2 separate regions of the Homo sapiens genome follow, and region 2 is linked to region 1. Evidence: promoter capture Hi-C in human tissues and cell types (Jung and others, 2019). All regions are on one chromosome and are shown on one strand. The core of a region is centred on a gene start or on the middle of the fragment in contact, and the rest is flanking DNA. Distances in the headings are between cores, read along the strand shown. Region 1 has its middle 21 kb from the start of CCL22. Region 2 holds the start of POLR2C (RNA polymerase II subunit C).

The links. The method cuts DNA at HindIII sites, captures the fragments that hold promoters and counts their contacts. A contact is called where the count stands out against the background at its distance.
Region 2: a contact is called between the fragment with the promoter of POLR2C here and a fragment that was not itself captured in region 1, in 5 of the 25 tissues and cell types used here (IMR-90 fibroblasts, dorsolateral prefrontal cortex, liver and 2 more).

The regions. Positions count from the first base shown.
Region 1 is chr16:57,334,432-57,341,053 of GRCh38, forward strand. No RefSeq gene overlaps it. Among named protein-coding and RNA genes, the nearest start is that of CCL22, 21 kb to the right of the region's middle. The HindIII fragment of the contact is 4,385 bases long and covers 1,193-5,577 here.
Region 2 is chr16:57,461,383-57,468,004 of GRCh38, forward strand. It overlaps POLR2C (RNA polymerase II subunit C), which reads left to right and starts at 1,297. Exons shown (of 9, transcript NM_032940.3): 1 at 1,297-1,428; 2 at 1,647-1,696; 3 at 4,571-4,639; 4 at 4,793-4,845. The coding sequence starts at 1,343. RefSeq lists an enhancer at 1,155-1,449. The HindIII fragment of the contact is 18,274 bases long and covers 1-6,622 here.

The sequences.
Region 1 (6,622 bases), core at 2,135-4,634:
GCTGTGTCACAGTCTCGGCTCACTGCAACTTCTGCCTTTGGGGTTCAAGCAATTCTCCCACTTCAGCCTCTGAGTAGCTGGGATTACAGGCATGCACCACCACATGCCCGGCTGTTTTTTGTGTTTTTAGTAGAAATGGGGTTTCACCACGTTGGCCAGACTGGTCTTGAACTCCTGACCTCAGGTGATCTGCCCACCTTGGCCTCCCAAAGTGCTAGCATTACAGGCGTGAGCCACTGCGCCTGGCCGAGACTGAATAATCTTAATTAACCTATCTTCAAGTTCACAAATTATTCCTTCTGCCAGCTCAAAGCTGCTTTAGAGCCCTTCCAGTGAATTTTTTCATTTCAGTTATTATGTTTTTCAACTCCAGAATTTCTGTTTGTTCCTTATTTTACAATTTCTATCTCTTTATTGGTATTCTCTATAGGTGAGACATTGTATATTTTAATTCTTTAGACATGGTTTCTTTTTGTTCATTGAACATATTTATAATAGTTGACTTAAAGCTGTTGTCTCACAGTTCAATGTTTGGGCTTCCTCAGGAGACAGCTTCTATTGACTACTCTCCCTCACCTAATGTATGGGTCATACTTTCCCATTTTTTGACATGTCTCCAAAATTTTTAAATTAAAAACTGGAAATTTAAAATGATACAACATGTTATCAAGCAGGGTCCCACGGAAATAAAAGAAAAAAATAAAATGATGTAACATGGAAACTCTAGCAATCACATTCCACCTTCCCAGTTGCTTGTTATGAACTGAATGTTTGTGTCTCCAAAAATCCATATGTTGAAACTCTAAGCCCCAGTGTGGCTGTATTTGGTGATGGGCCCTCTAAAGAAGTAATTGAGGTTAAATAGGTCATAAGGATGGAGCCTTGATCTGATAGGATTAGTATCCTCATCAGAAGAGATACCAGTCAGCTCGATCTCTTAGTGTCAGCTACACCCGCAATGATGTGTGAGCAGTATCTAGAACATCTTTTTTGCAAAATGGAGCTCTATGCCCATTAAACAGCTCCCCATTCCCTCATCCCCCACAGCCTTTGACAACCACCATTGTACTTCCTGTCTCTGTGAATTTGACTACTCTAGTTACCTCACATGAGGGGAATTATACAGTATTGCCTTTTGAGACTGGCTTATTTTACTTGGCGTAATGTTCTCAAAGTCATCCATGTTGTACGTGTCGTAATTTCCTTCCTTTTTAATGAATAATATTCACTTTGTGTATATGCCACATCTGGTTTATGCATTCATCTGTTGATGGACACTTGGGTTGCTTCCACCTCTTGACTGTTATGAAAAATGCCACAGTGAACATGAATGTGCAGGTATCTGTTCAAGATCCTGCTTTCAATTCTTTTGGATATATACCCCAAAAAGGAATGTCTGGATCACATAGTATTCTACTTTTAATTTTTTCAGGAACCACCATACTGTTTTCCATAGTGGCTATACAATTTTATATTCCCACCAGCGGTGAACAAGAGTTCCAATTCCTCCACATCCTTGCCATCACTTGTTATTTTCTGTCTTTTTTTTTTTAATTAGTCATCCTAATGGGTGTGGGTTGATATTTGTCTTGATTTGCAGTTTCCTAATAAATAATGATGTTTAACGTTTTTTCATCTTGGCCATTTGTCTATCTGCTTTTTTTTTTTTTTTTTTGACGGAGTCTTGCTGTGTTGCCCAGGCTGGAGTGCAGTGGCGTGATCTCGGCTCACTGCAAGCTCCGCCTCCTGGGTTCACGCCATTCTCCCGCCTCAGCCTCCCAAGTAGCTGGAACTACAGGCGCCCGCCACCATGCCCAGCTAATTTTTTGTATTTTTAGTAGAGATGGGGTTTCACCATTCATGGGATGGTCTCGATCTCCTGACCTTGTGATCTGCCTGCCTCAGCCTCCCAAAGTGCTTGGATTACAGGTGTAAGCCACCATGCCTGGCCGGCCATTTGTATATCTTTTTAGGAGAAATACCTATTCAAGTCCTTTGTTCATTTTAAAATTGGGTTATTTGTCTTTTTCTTATTGTGTTGCAGGAGTTCCTCATATATACATATATATATATATACATATATATATATATATGTGTATATATATATGTTTTTTTTTTTTTTTGAGACGGAGTCTCACTCTGTCACCCAGGCTGGAGTGCAGTGGTGCGATCTCAGCTCACTGCTGCCTCTGCCTCCTAGATTTAAGCGATTCTCCTGCCTCAACCTCCCAAGTAGCTGGTATTACAGGTGAACACCACCGCACCTGGCTAATTTTTTGTATTTTTTAGTAGAGATGGGGTTTCACCATGTTGGCTAGGCTGGTCTCTAACTCCTGACTTCAGGTGAACCACCTGCCTTGGCTTCCCAAAGTGCTGGGATTACAGGCGTGAGCCACTGCACCTGGCCGAGTTCCTCATATATTTTGCATATTAACCCTGGATATGTAATTGCAAATATAGTCTCTCATTCTATAGGTTGTCTTTTCACTCTGTTGATTGTGTCATTTGATGCACAGAAGTTTTAGATTTTGATGTAGTTTAATGTATCTATTTTTACTTTTGTTATCTGTGCTTTTGGTATGATTATCCAGAAAATCCTTGCCAAGTCTGATGTCATGAAGCTTTCTTGTATGTTTTCTTCTAAAAGTTTTATAGTTTATTTTTTACATTTAGGTTTTTGATCCATTTTGATTTAATTTTTGTATATGGTGTATAAAGTAAGGATCTTACTTTATTCTTTTGTATGTGGATATTCAGTTCTCCCATATCATTTGTTGAAGAAACTGTCCTTTCTCCATTGTATAGTCTTTTCACTCCTGTCAAAGCTCATTTGACCATATGAACAAGAGTTTATTTCTGGGCTCTGTATTTTGTTCCATCCATTTATATGTCTGTCTTTATACTGGTACCACACTGCTTTGATTACTGTTGCTTTGCAGTATGTTTTATTATTTATTTTTATTTATTATTATTATTTTTTGTAGAGATGGGATCTCACTTTGTTGCCCAGGCTGGCCTCAAACTCCTGGCCTCAAGCATTTCTCCTGCTTTGACCTCTCAAAGTGCTGGGGTTATAAACATGAGCCACCCTGCCTAGCCTGTAGTATGTTTTTAAGTCAGAAAGTGTGATGTTTCCAACTTTGTTTTTCTCTTTCAATATTATTTTGGCAATTTGGGTTCTCTTGAGTTTCCATATAAATTTTAGAATTTTTTTTAAAAATGATGTTGGGATTTTGATAGGGATTGGATTAAATTTGTAGATTGCTTTGGTTACTATTGACATCTTAACAATATTAAGTCTTTTGATCCATGAACATAGGATGTCTTTCCATTTATTTGTGTCTTTGTTTCTTTCAGAAACATTTGTAGTTTTCAACATATAAGCCTTTTATCTTGTTGGTTAGGTTAGGTTTATTCCTACATATTTTATTCTTTTTGATGCTATTGTAAATGGAATTATTTTCTTAATTTTATTTTCAGATTGTTAATTGTTAGTGTGTAGAGATGCAATTGTTGTTTGCTTTTTTTTTTTTTTGACAAGATCTGGCTCTGTCACCCAGGCTGGAGAGCAGTGGTGCGATCTCGACTCACTGCAACCTCTGCCTTCCAGGCTCAAACCATCCTCCTGCCTCAGCCTCCCAAGTAGCTTGGACCACAAGCGTGCACCACCACACTCAGTGAATTCTGGTACTTTTTGTAGGGACAGGGTTTCGCCATATTGCCCAGGCTGTTCTTGAACTTGTGAGCTCAAGTGATCCATCTGCCTTGGCATCCCAAAGTGCTGGGATTACAGGCATAAGCCACCACACCCAGCTGCAATTGACTTTTATGTGACCATTTTGTGTCCTGCAACTTTACTGAATTGTTTGTTAGTTTTAATAGCTTTTTAATGGATGCAATTTTTAGGGTTTGCTGCATATAGGATCATGTCATCTTCAAACAGAGATAATTTTACTTCTTCATTGTCAATATGGATGCCTTTTATTTCTCTTTCTTGCCTAATTGCTCTGGCTAGGATTCCAGTACTATGTTATTAGAAGTGGTGAAAGCAGGCATCCTTACTTATTCCTGGTCTTAGAGAACAAGCTTTCAGTCTTTCACTATCAGGTTTGTTTTAATCTGCACATAACTATGCTTAGGTAGTTTCCTTCTATTCCTAGTTTGTTGTGTATTTCTCCATTGTTTTGGACAAAAGTCATGTGTTAATCTTACTGTCATTTCTGTGTATATGATGGATTTTCTTTTCTGCTTTCAAGTTTTTATTTTCTTCTTTTCAACAGTTTAATTATAACGTGCTCATGTGTGGATCTCTTTGAGTCTATCCTACTTCTGGCTCATTCAGATTCTAGGATGTGTAGATTAATGTTATCATCAAATTTTGGAATTTTTCAGCCATTTTTTTCTTTGAATATTTTTTCTGCCCATTTCTCTATTTTTTCCCTCTTTCTCAGAGTCCTGTTACCTGGATGTTGGTGCATTTGATGATGGGCCAAGGCTTCTTAGTCTCTGTTCATTTTCTTCAGTCTTTTTTCTCTCCATTATTCAGCTTGTATAATCTCTGCTGATCTATCCTCAAGATTGCCAATTCTTTATTTTGTCAGCTCAAATTTGCTTTTAAGCCCCTCCAGGGAAATTTTCATTTTAGACACTATACTTTTCAAATCCAGAATTTCTATTGGTTCTCTTAAAAATAATTTTTCTTGGCAGGGCACGGTGGCTCATGCCTCTAATTCCAGCACTGTAGGAGGCTGAGGCGGGTGGATCACCTGAGGTCAGGTGTTTGAGACTAGCCTGGCCAACATGGAAAAACCCCATTTCTACTAAAAATACAAAACTTAGCAGAACTTATAACAAACTACAAAAACTTATAACAAAACTGCAAAACTGTGAGAAAAAATAATCATTTGAAAACTGGAGATTGATCAAAATTATAAGTAGTAGGTAGAATAATGGGTGACAGAGTGAGATTCTGTCTCAAAAAAAGAAAAAAGAAAAAACTAACACAGTATGTAACAAATTGAGAAGTGTTTACTTTGAAAAGTCTTGAACTTTAATGAGAAAAGAATGAGGGCTTTGTGTGGGTGGGTGGGTGTTTCAGAGCTTCCTCACTCAGTCATTCTGGAAGTCCCATCTATATGTGATACATTCTTACAATGGAATACTGTGGAGGAATGAGAATGAAGTAAAAGGGCAAGCAAAGACATGGCTGAATCTCCTAAACATAATGTTGAATGAAAGGAGTCAGGCACAGGCCAGGTGCAGTGGCTCATGCCTGTAGTCCTAGCTGCTAGGGGAGCTGAGGTGGGAGGATAGCTGAGGTTGAGGCTGAAGCGAACCGTGATCGTGCCACCGGACTCCAGTCTGGGTGACAGAGCGAGACGCTGTCTCAAAAAAAGAGAAGAAGTCAGGCATAAAGGAATGCTTTCTGTATGATTCAGTGTTTCTTTCTGTTCTTTGTTTGTTTGTTTTTTTGAGACAGTGTTTCTCTCTGTCACCCCCCCCGGCTCATTGCAGCCTTGGCCTCCCAGGCTCAAGTGATCCTCCCACCTCAGTCTCTCTAGTAGCTAGGGGCCACAGGCTTGCATCACCATGCCTGGCTAATTTTTGTATTTTTTTTTTTTTTTTTGGAGAGATGGGGCCTCACTACATTGCCTAGGCTGGTCTCGAACTTGGGCTCAGGTAATCCTCCTACCTCAGCTTCCCAAAGTGCTGGGATTAGAGGCATGAGCACCCAGTGCACCCAGTCACTTTTTCTATGATTCAAATAGAAATAACTAGTTTAGGTATTAGGAGCCAGAATGGGCTTTCCTTGGTGGTGGCAGCAGAGGGGTTGTGATGGAAGAGGTCATGAGGGGGTTTCTGGGTTCTTCTTCTTCTTCTTCTTCTTCTTTTTTTTTTTTTTTTTTTTTTTTTTTTGAGACAGAGTCTTGCTCTGTCACCCAGGCTGGAGTGCAGTGGCGTAATCTCTGCTCACTGCAACCTCTGCCTCCCGGATTCAAGCAATTCTCCTGCCTCAGCCTCCCGAGTAGCTGGGACTGCAAGCACCCACCAACACGCCTGGCTAATTTTTGTATCTTTAGTAGAGATGGGGTTTCACCATATTGGCCAGGCTGGTCTCAAACTCCTGACTTTGTGATCCGCCTGCCTCGGCCTCCCAAAGTGCTGGGATTACAGGTGTGAGCCACCATGCCCAGCTCTTGTTCTTCTTCTTCTTTTTTTATTTTTTAACTTTTTATCTTCTAGTAATTTCAAACTTACAGCAAATTTGCAAAAATAGAGTAAAGAAATCCTGTATTTCCTGTATTTCCATCATCCTGATCCACCAACTGTTAACATTTTACCACTTGAGAAAATAATAATTCTTTCCGTACGAGGAGTCCAAGCCCATGTAGATACAGCATCCCTGTGACAGTGACTTCCAGGATCCCACACTAAAAGAAGGGCAAGAGGAGGAGCCTTCTGACACATGGTTGGTCCTGGGGGACCCATTCCTTAGGTAGGTGGCCACTGACCACAGAAAGAGATGACACTGTTCATTGTCCAGTTTGAAGGCTCCTGAGATTCCAAACGCTCTTGGTTCCCCCCTGGTCTTCTCTATAATTCTCCATCTGTGTCCAGATTA
Region 2 (6,622 bases), core at 47-2,546, 120 kb after region 1:
TAATACATAGTGGTAATTATAGTACCTCTGCGTCTCTGGGCTCAAGTCTTCCCATCAGTAAAATACGGGTAACAGAAGCCTTCCCACAGACCATCAGCTCCCTTGGCTGCTCTTGTCTGACGATTTTAGTGGTACATTCTTTAGCCCCAGTAATTTTCTCAGCCTCTACACTGGCTGGGTTCCCTTTGCACGTCTGGTTAGCTCTGTTTTCTGCTTTGCTCTCTTCTGCCTGTCAGCTGAATATTAATGGGGGAAAGTCAGCAACTAATTGAATTTCAGATCTCTTGTGGGTCTTCCACTGGATCTTTTTTGCACCTCTCAATTCCTTGTATCTCTTGACATCCTGTGAAGTTTTCGCAGTAGCTGTTCCAGTTTTCATTGCATTCTCCTTTTTCCTTCATAGCATCCATCTTACACTCAGCAGACAACCATAATTCTTAATTTACCAAGATGACACAGGTTATGGAGCAGGGTTCCATCAGTGCCCACCCTCTGTTTCAGGAAGAGGTGTCACTCTTTGCAAAGGCAAACTCCTCTTTATCTGGTTACTCTTCTCCCAACTCTTAAATGTATTTCCTGCCACGTTCTATTTTAGAGCTTTTCTCTGTTGGAGCAGCAGCCACTTTTTTTGAGGCCCATTTAAACCTCTCTCCAGTCTGTTTAGGGGACTTCAGTAGTTCTTTGTTGAGCATGCACCCCACATGGTGCCCACTGCCAGGCACTGGGGATGCAGAGACAAAGAGTTCCCACTCACCCACCACAGCTACACAGACTGTAGAGGAAGCATTAGGTTAAAGAACATTGTATCTTTTCCTGAAGTTTTCAGAAGTGCATGGTCCATACTTGAGACTGCAAGGGAAAGGGTATTTACTTATAATTCAGGTATACTTTGCTAAAATATACATTCATATTAAAATATACTTTTGTTTTTCTATAGATGTACAAGTTCTTTTTAAGTGCTTCATAGTATTCCATGTGTGTATACTCCACCAGGTCTCTTATCAATGGACAGTACAAACAGTACTACCACGAACGTCCCTGCACTCGTATCTTTGTTTACAACTGCAAGTGTTTCTGCAGTATGAATTCTTAGAAGTGTTACTGTTAAGTGAAGGACGTATGCGTGTTTTGCCAAACTACCCTCCGAGATAGCTGAATCTGGTACATTTTAAAGCAGGAGGCCGCAGAAGACGCTCGGCAGTTCTGGCCTCCGAGCAGCAGGCGGCGCTGTGAGTCGTCTTTGCGGAAGCCGCGGAGGCCTCGCTGACTGACTTCCGGTGTTGGCGGTGGCGCCGCGCAGTCACCGCGGAGCAGACGCGGAGGCTGGTGGCCCCTGGGCGAGATGCCGTACGCCAACCAGCCTACCGTGCGGATCACGGAGCTCACTGACGAGAATGTCAAGTTCATCATCGAGAACACCGACCTGGCGTAAGGCTACCGAGGGAAGAGGCTGGCGGCTCTGGGGCGCCGGGAGGCCCAAGCCGGGGCCCCGGGGCAGGGGGCGGGGGTGTAGTGGGGTGGGGTGGGGGCGATGTCCTTCCAGAGCTGCCCCCCTGCACCAGGGCTTTAGCTTTGGGAGCCTGCGGCGCGGGCCCAGCCTGTCGAGGCTGCAGCGCCTTCACGCCCCTTGGCTTTTGATCTTTCAGGGTGGCCAATTCGATTCGGAGGGTCTTCATCGCTGAGGTTCCCATAATAGGTAAGCGACTCCCCTTCCTCGTTCCCGCGCCCACGGGTTCCTGCCCCGCTCTCCACCCACACACTCTTTGGGGCTCCTTCCAGTCCTTGGTTCGGGCTGAGGGTGGTAGTGCTGAGAAAAGTGCATTGCTGGAGACTTGACCATACCCTGTGCCCTTGGCTCAGTGGCCGCCTCCCTGGCGCCCACGGGCCACTTAGGTCCACCCTTGTCCTGGGTATGCATTGCTGAGAAGCATGGGTTTAGCAGTGTGCAGACTTGGGTTCAAATACTGTTTTCACTACTATTGTTACAAAAGTTTTTAAAATGTTTTCAACTTTTATTTTGGAGTCAAGGGGTACATTGGTGCAGGTTTGTTGCCTGGGTATAGTGCGTGATGCTGAGATTTGGGGTATAAATGATCCTTTCACCCAGGTAGTGAGCATAGTACGCAATAGGTAGTTTTTCACCCCTAGCCCCACTGCCTCCCTTCCAGCTCTAGTAGTCACCAGTGTGTTTATTGTCATCTTTATGTCCGTGCGTACCCAGTTTTAGCTCCCATGCGGTGTTTGGTTTTCTGTTCCTGTGTTAATTCTCTTAGGATAATGGCTTCCAGGCCGCGCTCGCGCCTGTAATTCCAGCACTTTGGGAGGCCAAGACTGAGGAACACCTGAGGCCAGGAGTTTGAGACCAGCCTGGCCAACATGGGGAAAGCCCGCCTCTACTAAAAATGCAAAAATTAGCCAGGTGTGGTGGCTCCCACCTGTAATCCCAGCTACTGGGGAGGCTGAGGCAGAATTGATTGAACCCAGAAGGTGGAGGTTGCAGTGAGCCGAGATCATGCCACTGCACTCTGGCCTGGGCAATAGAGTGAGACTCCTTCTCAAACAAAAGAAAATAAAAAAGAAGATAGTGGCTTCCAGCCACGTCCATGTTGCTGCAGAGGACATGATTTCGTTCGTTCTTATGGCTGCATCACTTACTGCTTTTGTGAAACTTGGGCAAGTTATTAAACTTCTGTGTGCTGCAGTTTCCTCATCTGTAACATTCGGCCACTAATGATCCTTATCAGGGTAATGTTAAGGATTAAGTGAGGTAATCCATATAAGTGCTTTGTGTTTAGTGAGTGCTCAGTGCTGGTAGATGGCTTTTTTATTAATCTATTCCTTCAACAGCATTTATGGAGCATGAAAGTGGCAGGCATGGTGGTAAGCTCTGGGAATGCAAAGCTGTAGAGAACAGGGTTTTTGCCCTCATGGAGTCCACAGTGAGGTTGTAGGGGAGAGATGAATCCACAGACAACACTAAAGCAAGGTAGATTTTGATCAGTAGTTCAGGAGAAGCATAGCTGTGGTGCACTTGGCTCTTAGAGGAGGGAAGATCAATTTCTGGTCTGGTTCCAGCCACTCTGCTCCAGGTGCTTAATGCATTGATTATACTTGTATGAAATACTTCAAGCATTTCTGAGAGTCAGCTCAGAGAGTTTGGATTAGGCAAAATAAATATAAGTCATAGCTGTGGCATCAAATATTCAGACTTTTAAGGAAATAAGCAGGCCAAATGATTAGGCAAGAGAACATTGTAGTTTATCCACTACCACCACCACCCCACCCCCCCGCCCCCCAGTCACTTCTTAAATTCAGCTTGGAGTGCTGGACCTCCCCCTGCCTAAGCACTTCATGCCTCTGGACCTCAGTTTCATCAGGAGTCAGGTGAGGGAGTTGTACTTCATGATGCAGCCCTGCCATTCTGAGTCTAAATGCCTCTTTCCCAACAAATTCAGTTCTACAAATAATATTGAGCACCCATGCTAGGAATACAAAGACATCCCAGGACCTGCGTGAAGGAATTTCTGAAGCTTGAGGTATAGACATAACATACACAAATATGACACAAGGCACACTATGACAAGTGTCTTGAGGGAAGTCTGAACAGAGTTTTGTGAGAGAGGAGTTGAAAGGGAGGGAATGTCACATCTGTAGCATAGAGAGCAGGCAAGGCTTAGTTTTCAGGAGGCACAGAGGATCTTAACCTGTACAGCAAGGAGGGGAAGGGTGTGCTGGAGGGAAGGGCTGGGGGATTAAAGAGGCAGAAAAGCTTGGGTCAGGGTTCTCTCAGTTGGCTTGGACTGGGGAAGCAATGGGAAGCATAGCAGGACAGAGCAGGTGGAGGCCTGGCAGGGGGAGGTCCTCTTCCGACCGCTGTTCCTAGTGTCTGTGTCCCTCGTTTGGCAGTTGGGCTCCAGTGCCATTTGATTCCTGGATTTAGTTGGTTCCATGCAAATGTTTATGAATGAATAAATGTGTGTTTAAGTCAAGCATGTGTGATCGATAATACAGTCTTTACCCTCCTACGAGCTCATTGCTGCTAGGGATTGGGTTCTATATTTAGTATACTTTGCGCATTAAAAGAATTCAGTAAACATTTGTTGATTGAGTGTTTAAAAAGTGCTAAGTTGGGCAGTCCAGTCATTATATCCTAAAATGAGGTATGGCCCCATAAGTCTGTGTTGCTTCTGTGAGGGTTTCCCTGACTTTGAAGTGCTCAAATAGTTCATGTTCTTGGATTTAGTGGTGGCACAGGTAGCAGATTTAAGTGCTTCTCATGCAAATACTCAGCTCAAATAAACATGTTTCCACTTCTATGATATTCTATAAGTCAGTGTTTTCTGTGAAGCAGGGAGCCCCCTGCATTAAATTCACCTGGGCAGGGAGGTGAGGTGTGGTGTGTGTGGGTCTTATTAAAATGCAAGTACCTGGGCCCCACTCTAATGCTGTGGAATCAGCCCAGCAATCTGCAGTTTAGTGTCAGGTGATTCCTAAATCTTGAGAACCACTGCATTAAGTCTGTAGGTAAATTTGATGGCTAAACTCCATGTCTGCTTCTTTCATTTTTTAGCCATTGACTGGGTTCAGATTGATGCCAATTCCTCAGTTCTTCATGATGAATTCATTGCTCACAGGCTTGGTGAGTACTCCTTTTACTAGGAGGTTAAAGGGAGGGTATTGTGCCTAGTGTCAGGAGGGGGCCTCCTTCCAGCCTCACCCCCAGAAGGCTTCTGGGTTCTCATTTTGGCTTGGCTGTTTGGTTTTCTTTAAAGTGCTTTTCTGTTTTTTACAGGATTAATTCCCCTCATTAGTGATGACATTGTGGACAAGCTGCAGTACTCTCGGGTATGTTGTGTGATTGGGTGGAATGTGAGGTTTGGTGGGGAGGCTTTGGTTCTCAAAGGGATTTTTCCTGACATTTGGCATCCAGCTTGAATACTGTTGTAGTTCTGGAACAACAACGTGGAGATGTTGTCTAGAGCCTGGGCAGGCCTTGGTCCTGCGTTCTGATGGGGCTTCAGATTGATTAGCACGCAGAACATCAGGGAGTGTTGTTAGGCAGCTCCACCACAGTGCCCATTTATACTTAGAGTGGAGGTTCTTCCTTCCAAAGCATCTCTTCCCAGTAGCAGGGGCCTTAGGATGCTACAGGAGTCAACAGAAGGTTGGGGTAGGCAAGGAGCAGAGGGAATGGGAGCTGTCTCACAAGAGCAGCTCCTGGGGGACTAGTCCTGGTGTCTGCAGATTCATGCTGTCCCCTCCCTCGCAGGTGATGCTGCTTAAACATGGCCACACTCTTAGTGTCTCACCCCCTTCCTCCTGGTCGTGTTTGCTCCCTGATGGCATGTTAACAGGCCTTCAGAGTTTGGAGAGAGTAGGATAGGAGTCGGTTACCTTCATCCTTTCACTAGGCTGCATTACACAGCAGCTTAAGGCTACTCCCTCTTGATGGCTTTGGGTGATCCAGAATCAGTCCATTTTCTAATATTCTCAAGGGCCATGTCATTTTTGTGATGGCTAATTTGATATATCTTATAAATATGTGTGTATTTTTAAAAAAGAAATATTCAGCTGGATGCAGTGGCTCACACCTGTAATCCCAGCACTTTGGGAGGCCGAGGCGGGTTTATCACGAGGTCAGGAGATCGAGACCATCCTGGCTGACACGGTGAAACCCTGTCTCTACTAAAAATACAAAATATTAGCCGAGCGTGGTCCCGCTCCCAAGTAGTCCCAGCTACTCGGGAGGCTGAGGCAGGAGAATGGCATGAACCCGGGAGGCGGAGCTTGCAGTGAGCCGAGATTGCGCCACTGCACTCCAGCCTGGGTGACAAAGTGAGACTCCGTCTCAAAAAAAAGAAATATTCAAGCACAGAAAAGCATGGAGCTAGTGTAATAAATACTCATGCTTCTACCTAATACTACGTTGTCACATTTTAACATTTTGCCCTATTTGTTTCAGATCTCCAGATTTTTGTTTTTTAATAAATAAAACATAGATATTGGTGGGGACCGTTGTACAACCAATTAAGAGCAATTTGGCGATATCTTACATAAAGATACGCATGCTCTATCACCTAGCAGTTCCTTTCATTAAAATTTTTTCTAGTATTTATTGCACAAAGATGGCATGGTCTGTCTCTCTCTCTCTCTGGCTTTTTCTGAAAATCTGTAGAAAAGTTGAAAAACTAAAATAATACCCTTTACTTTTCACCTATAGTTACCAATTAATATTTTACATTTGCTTTATTTTTCATATGCAAATTGTTATTTTTGCTGAACTGTGTGAAAGTTGCAGACATCCTAACACTTCCAAGTACTTCAGCATGCATTTCCTAATAAGAATAGTTTCCTACATAACTACACTTTCATTGTGCCTAAGAAAGTTAGCATTAATCTGTAATATCAATATTCAGATTTTCCTAGTTTTTCCCCAAATATCCTTTATTGTTTTTCTGTTTGTTTGTGGGTCAGTCTTGATCCAGTGAAGATTCATTTGGTCCTCATAGCACTTTAGTCTCTTTTCATCTCAAACAGACTCCTCTCCTTTCAGTACATTTTTTTTAGGTTAAATACCTTTTCATATTTTTATCTTCCATTACATTTTGATTCTCCCATTTCA